Regions from separate parts of the Homo sapiens genome. Here region 2 is linked to region 1. The links are contacts of gene promoters, found by promoter capture Hi-C in human tissues and cell types (Jung and others, 2019). All regions are on one chromosome and are shown on one strand. Each heading gives the region's core, a stretch centred on a gene start or on the middle of the fragment in contact. The rest is flanking DNA. Distances are from core to core; before and after follow the strand shown.

Region 1 (2,886 bases), core at 165-2,664:
TCTTTCAGGTGGGTGGCAGTCAGAACATGCGTAATATTCTCTACCTGGTCTGTAGCTGTAACTGTGATGTACAGACAAAGCAAAAATTAAAAGAACTCATGAAAACAAATAATACAATGGTATTAGGATATACACTTTTGTGTTTTTAATCTTATAGAAGGTTATTTGCTGGCTATTGTTGGCCTCTAGTTCAGCCTGTTATTTAAATTCTTTTTTTTTCTTGAGACGGAGTCTCACTCTGTCGCCCAGGCTAGAGTGCAGTGGCCTGATCTCGGCTAACTGCAACCTCCGCCTCCTGGGTTTAAGCAATTCTCTGCCTCAGCCTCCGAGTAGCTGGGATTACGAGCGCCCACAACCACATCTGGCTAATTTTTTGTATTTTTGGTAGAGACGGAGATTCACCATCTTGGCCAGGCTGATGTTGAACTCCTGACCTCGTGATCCACCCACCTTGGCCTCCCAAAGTGTTGGGATTACAGACATGAGCCACCGCGCCCGGCCTAAATTCTAATATATGAATTATTTGTATTGAATTCATGTTCGGGGCCACGTTGTTATATGTATTGATATACAGCCTTGAATGTGAATAATTACTATATATTTTACAACTTTTTTCTGGCTTTATTACAAAAACTTTCTTTTTTTTTTTTTGAGACAGACTCTCGCCCTATCACCAGGCTGGAGTGCAGTGGCGAGATCTCAGCTCACTGCAACCTCTGCCTCCCGGGTTCACGCCATTCTCCTGCCGCAGCCTCCCGAGTAGCTTGGATTACCGGCGCCCACCACCGCGCCAGGCTAATTTTTGTATTTTCAGTGGAGACCGGGCCTCACCATGTTGGCCAGCGTGGTCTCGATCTCCTGACCGCCTGATCCTCCCGCCTCGGCCTCCCAAAGTGCTGGGATTACAGGCGTGAGCCACCAGGCCCCGCCCTTATTATATAAATTTTCTATTGGGTCAATGATTTAATCATATAATTTAATGAATCTGTTCTTTTTTTCCCCCCAAATATTTGTGCTTTAGGTGTAGTTACCAGATGATGAATTTTCCTCCTATGCTCCGTAGTCTTGTAATAAAAAGCATGTACAGTGTAGACGTTTGCTGGCATGGCTCTTCCTTTGACCAGTTCATGAACTGGAGTCAGGGTGGGGGTGAAGGCTAGGGTCGAGGTCTGGGTCAGGCGCTCGTGCACCGCTCGTGGGAGGTCGAGGCTGATGTCCGCTGCTCCCCATCAGCGTTAGTGCCCAGATCACCCCGTGCTCCGCTCCCGCCGGAAGCGGGCCCAGCCTCCTGCTTTTCGGGACCGGAACTTCCGCCTACCGCGTGACGCCGGGGCGGGCGCTCTACCAGGGCGGACCTGTGGGCGGGACAGAACTCAGAGGACGCTATTAAAAGCCGGACGCTTCCGGTGGAAGGGAGCTGTTGCGGGGCTTGCTGGGATCATGGCGGAGAATCACTGCGAGCTCCTGTCGCCGGCCCGGGGCGGCATCGGGGCGGGGCTGGGGGGCGGCCTGTGCCGCCGCTGCAGCGCTGGGCTCGGCGCCCTGGCCCAGCGCCCTGGCAGCGTGTCCAAGTGGGTCCGACTCAACGTCGGCGGCACCTACTTCCTCACCACTCGGCAGACCCTGTGCCGGGACCCGAAATCCTTCCTGTACCGCTTATGCCAGGCCGATCCCGACCTGGACTCAGACAAGGTGAGGGCCTCACGGGCCAGCCCGGAGGGTCCTGGCCTTCCCGGCCTGCGGCTCCTGCACACGCCCTGCTTCGTGCGGAGGAGACTTCAGCGGGAGCGGGCGACTCTCCTCGGGCTTCGAGCCCCGCGCTCCCTTGTCGCCAGCTCCTCCCCAGCTTGCCCCGATCCCCTACCCTGGGAGGGGAGGGTGAGGATGGCGCCCTGGCGTCCACTGCCTTTGAGGATCCTGAGTCGATTCACCTTGGGGGTGTCTCTTCCTCGCCCTCTTTGCTCTTTGGTGGAGGAGGCTTCCTAGACCCCGGACTTTGCTGTGATTCTACTTTCTTTTTCTCACTAGGTTCTTTTGCCCAGGGTGTGTGAACGCCTTCTCTTCTCTGTCCCAGGGTACTTGCTGGCTCTGGAAACAGAACCCTTGGCGTTGTTTCACATTCTGGACGTTTGAATTAACGCTGACGTGGGGGTTGATATGGGCGGCCCTTTTTTTCCCTGGTGACTTGCATTTAGAGAGTTGGCGCTCCATCCTTTCCATCCACAGCACGCAGCACCCACTCAGCACCTCTTAGAAGATGCGTCCGTAGTATATAGTATGATTTTTCGAAGGGGATTTTGCTCATATTAAGGGTTGCTTTAGGGATGTCCAGGAAGGGTCAGGTAAGGAATCTTTCAATCTGCTTTCTAATTGGCTTAGTTTTCCCACTGTCTTCGCAAAAGGACAGGAATTTCCAGGTTAGTTTGCAGCTTGTCTTTCATCAAGCGAAATGCTCATGCTGTTGGGTAGATGGTAATAGAAACCTTTTGCTACCTTTATTTATCAAGAGTTGTGGAGCCGAGGAACCGTGTCTTGGGAGTTGTGCAGGATTGAAACTCACAAAAAAGCCTGTTTGAAGAAGTTGTTACCTATATTTATTCAAGGCAGTTCACAAGCCTTATACTAACTTTGCGGGGTCTTTCAGTTGAGCTTACATGACTGCGCTTGGCTTTGTGCCTTGGCAGCCAACATTTGCCATGCAGGAGGCTTCCCAGAAAGGTTCGGATCCCTCTTCAAGTTTGAGAAGCCTGACTGAGACCATTCTCAGCATGGCATGACCGTGATCAGGAAGTGAGAATCTGGAGTTACTGCTAAGGCAGCCTTGTGGGTGGAAATGAGGGTTTGAGATGCCAACCCTCCTGTGCCTCCCCACAACTTCCAACTGTT
Region 2 (2,955 bases), core at 296-2,795, 280 kb after region 1:
CACGCACCGCCATTGTGCAGGCCTGCCCCTAGGACATCCTCTGTGGACTGGAGCCCGGGAGGACTTCACTGAGCCCCCGCCAAGAGAAACCGGGCAGACAGGTGGTCCCGGATGCTCCCTCGTCGGGAAGCGCAGTTGGGTTCCAGGGAGCCCGTGGGTGCTGGAGGCCCCAGCTCAGGGCTCAGTGAGCCGGGCCAGCCTGGCCTCTGAGAGGGCTCCCGGAGGAGGCGACCAGGACCCTGGCCTAGAGTCTCAGCAAGTCCATCTCCTTCAAATGCCCCCACCTCGGCTCCACGCCCCTCCTCCAGAGCACACTCGCGTGAGGCGCCAGCTGGAAGATCCTCGCGGGTCCCAGCACCGCAGTGGGTGCCTGGGCCTGACAGAACCTCCCTGAACCCCATCTTTCTTCTCCATCGACACCGGGGCAGAGACGGTGTGGGGGCTGCAGGGCGGGGACTGGTCGGCCTGGGCTCGACAGCTTGGCGAGGGCCTGGTGCGGGCTGGGCAGGCTGGACTGAGGGGCAAAGAGGTCTGGGCGGGGCGGGGCCGCTCTGGGCGCCCGGCCCCCACCAGTTCCTTCCCCCGGCCCCCGCCTCCGCCCTCCCACGCACCTGCGCTGGCCTCCCCCCAAGCCCTGGGGGCAGCGGGCGGGTGGCGCTGGGAGATCAGAGGACTCGGAGGAGTCGGGCCCAGGGGGAGGGGGCGGGGAATTTCCCCCCACGCCTGCCTGGGCCTGCTCCCCTCCCCCTCCCCCGCCAGGTGGGGGGCACGGCTGGGGGAATTCCACTGCAGTGTGAAGGCTCGGGAGAGTCTGGGCTGGGGGTCCCAGGGAAGGGCGGGGCAGGGGGAGGAGGAGGGGACAGACTGGGACCTGGGGCGCAGCTGCCTTTCTCCCCAGACACCAGCTGCCCCTGCCTGTCCCGGACTGAGCGTCCACGACTCCCGCCTGTCTCGTGGGCGCGGGGGCAGGGAGTGGAGCTTCCTCCGTCAGGCCAGCGGCATCTGGACCAGGGGCGGGAGGGGCGTGCGGATCCGAAGAAAGTGTGCGCGTGAGCGCCTGGCAATGAATGGGAGAGAGTGCGAGCGCGTGCGTGCACTGGGAGGAGGGCGCTTGTAACTCGGACATTCCGGGTGTCCTGGGGCGCGTGCGACCACGTGAGGGGGTTCTGTATCTCCCATTTTAAGGGCCTTCCGTCCGCTTGCCCCGCCTGTCCCCCTCCACACCTTCCCACTTGAACCGGCACCGACCTGAGGGAGAGGGGGCCGGGAAGCGCTGGACGCCCGGGGTCGGGGGAACGGGCGTGGGAGGCGTCTGGACCTGCTGCCTCCGCTCCAGTGCTGGGCGGGGCTTCCCGGCCTCCCATGGGGGGAGGGAGAGACCCAGGGGGAGGGACCCACGGAGGGATGCGAGGCGGGCAGGAGTCAGCCCGTTGGAGACCTGGGCGAGGGAGACGCCGAGAGCTAGGCTCAGTGGGAGGGGGCGGGCGTAGAGGCTGAGGCACCGCCCAGAGCTCGCTGAGACAGAGACTGAGAACGCCCCCGGCCAGATTCCCCCCGGAGAGACCCGGGTAGGGACAGGGACAGAGAGACGCCTCTAGGGGCAGAGGCCCTGGGAGGCAAAGACCCCCAGGAGAGATTTACCCACCCCAGACGGAAAGCGCGGCTCAGAGTCGGACGAGGGGAGACTGTCAGAGGACAACGCCCCCTAGGTCTCCTGGGAGACCCCGAAGCGACCCCGGGGGCAGCCCGGGCCGTGTCCGGGCGAGGGTGACCTATCCTTGGTTGAGAGCGATGGGGACACAAGCCCTGCAGGGCTTCCTCTTTCTCCTCTTCCTCCCGCTGCTGCAGCCGCGTGGGGCCTCGGCTGGGAGCCTGCACAGTCCAGGTAAGTCCCCGCACGGCTGTCGGGCCGTGTTCACCACCCCTTCCTCGGCCTCCGCCCCCAGGGCCAGGCCCCCAAGGCTAGGGAGGGGGACAGAGCAGGTGGCCGGAGCAGCTGAGCAGCCCGAGGGCTCCTGCAGGGGCGGGTGCGGGGTCGCTGGCTGGGGACCCAGGCGGGAGGTGGCGTAGGGGCGCGAGGATGCCCGGCGTGGGTCCGGACCTCCCCAGGCCCTGCCTTTGCCGTGCAGGCCTGTCCGAATGCTTCCAGGTGAATGGGGCTGACTACCGCGGCCACCAGAACCGCACTGGCCCGCGCGGGGCGGGCCGCCCGTGCCTCTTCTGGGACCAGACGCAGCAACACAGCTACAGCAGCGCCAGCGACCCCCACGGCCGCTGGGGGCTGGGCGCGCACAACTTCTGCCGGTGAGGGGCGGGGCCTGCGCTGGGGGCGAGGCTGGGCTCACCATTGCAGGGATGGCCCGAAGCGGGGCCTCCGTGCGGGCGGGGTGGAGGTCTGCCGTGGACTGGCAGCCCAGCCTCCTGGAGAACCTGGGGGCGGGGCCAGAATGAGGGGCGGGGCGGGGCGGGGCGGGGCGCGCGGAACCCTGGCGCAAAAGGGATCCTCCTCAGGTGAACAATTTCTGCAGAGCTCCAGTTCAGGGCCAGGAGAGAAACGGACCTGGGCACTCAAAGGACCCGTATGGGCGGGGCCTGGTCAGAGCGGGGGCCGAATGGGCGGGGCCTTGTCAGAGTGGGGCTCTTGTCATACAACTTATTTTGGGGTTCAGAGCCACAGCTACGGTCTGAGGCAGGATGGACCCAGCGGGAGGAGAGCCGCAAAGCTCAGGAGCTCACTTCTGCTTTTAAGTGGGGTTGGAGGCCAGGCGCGGTGGCTCAGCCTGTAATCCCAGCACTTTGGGAGGCCAAGGCAGGCGGATCATCTGAGGTCAGGAGTTCGAGACCAGCCTGGCTACCATGGTGAAACCCCATTTCTACTAAAAATACAAAAAATTAGCGGGGCATGGTGGCGGGCGCCTGTAATCCCAGCTACTCAGGAGGCTGAGGCAGGAGAAT

Evidence for each region. Contacts are between HindIII fragments. The study calls those that stand out against the background at their distance.
Region 2: the fragment with the promoter of KREMEN2 here is called in contact with the fragment with the promoter of KCTD5 in region 1 in 3 of the 25 tissues and cell types used here (IMR-90 fibroblasts, mesenchymal stem cells and stomach).

What each region holds. Positions count from the first base shown.
Region 1 is chr16:2,681,109-2,683,994 of GRCh38, forward strand. KCTD5 (potassium channel tetramerization domain containing 5) reads left to right here and starts at 1,415. Exons shown (of 6, transcript NM_018992.4): 1 at 1,415-1,692. The coding sequence starts at 1,441. RefSeq lists a silencer at 1,498-1,677 and enhancers at 1,773-2,383, 1,928-1,977, 2,048-2,097. The HindIII fragment of the contact is 14,940 bases long and covers 1-2,886 here.
Region 2 is chr16:2,962,730-2,965,684 of GRCh38, forward strand. KREMEN2 (kringle containing transmembrane protein 2) reads left to right here and starts at 1,546. Exons shown (of 9, transcript NM_172229.3): 1 at 1,546-1,885; 2 at 2,130-2,304. The coding sequence starts at 1,792. RefSeq lists enhancers at 1-778, 265-394, 2,363-2,955, 2,925-2,955 and silencers at 475-554, 585-714, 1,265-1,344, 1,875-2,124, 2,195-2,564. The HindIII fragment of the contact is 31,540 bases long and covers 1-2,955 here.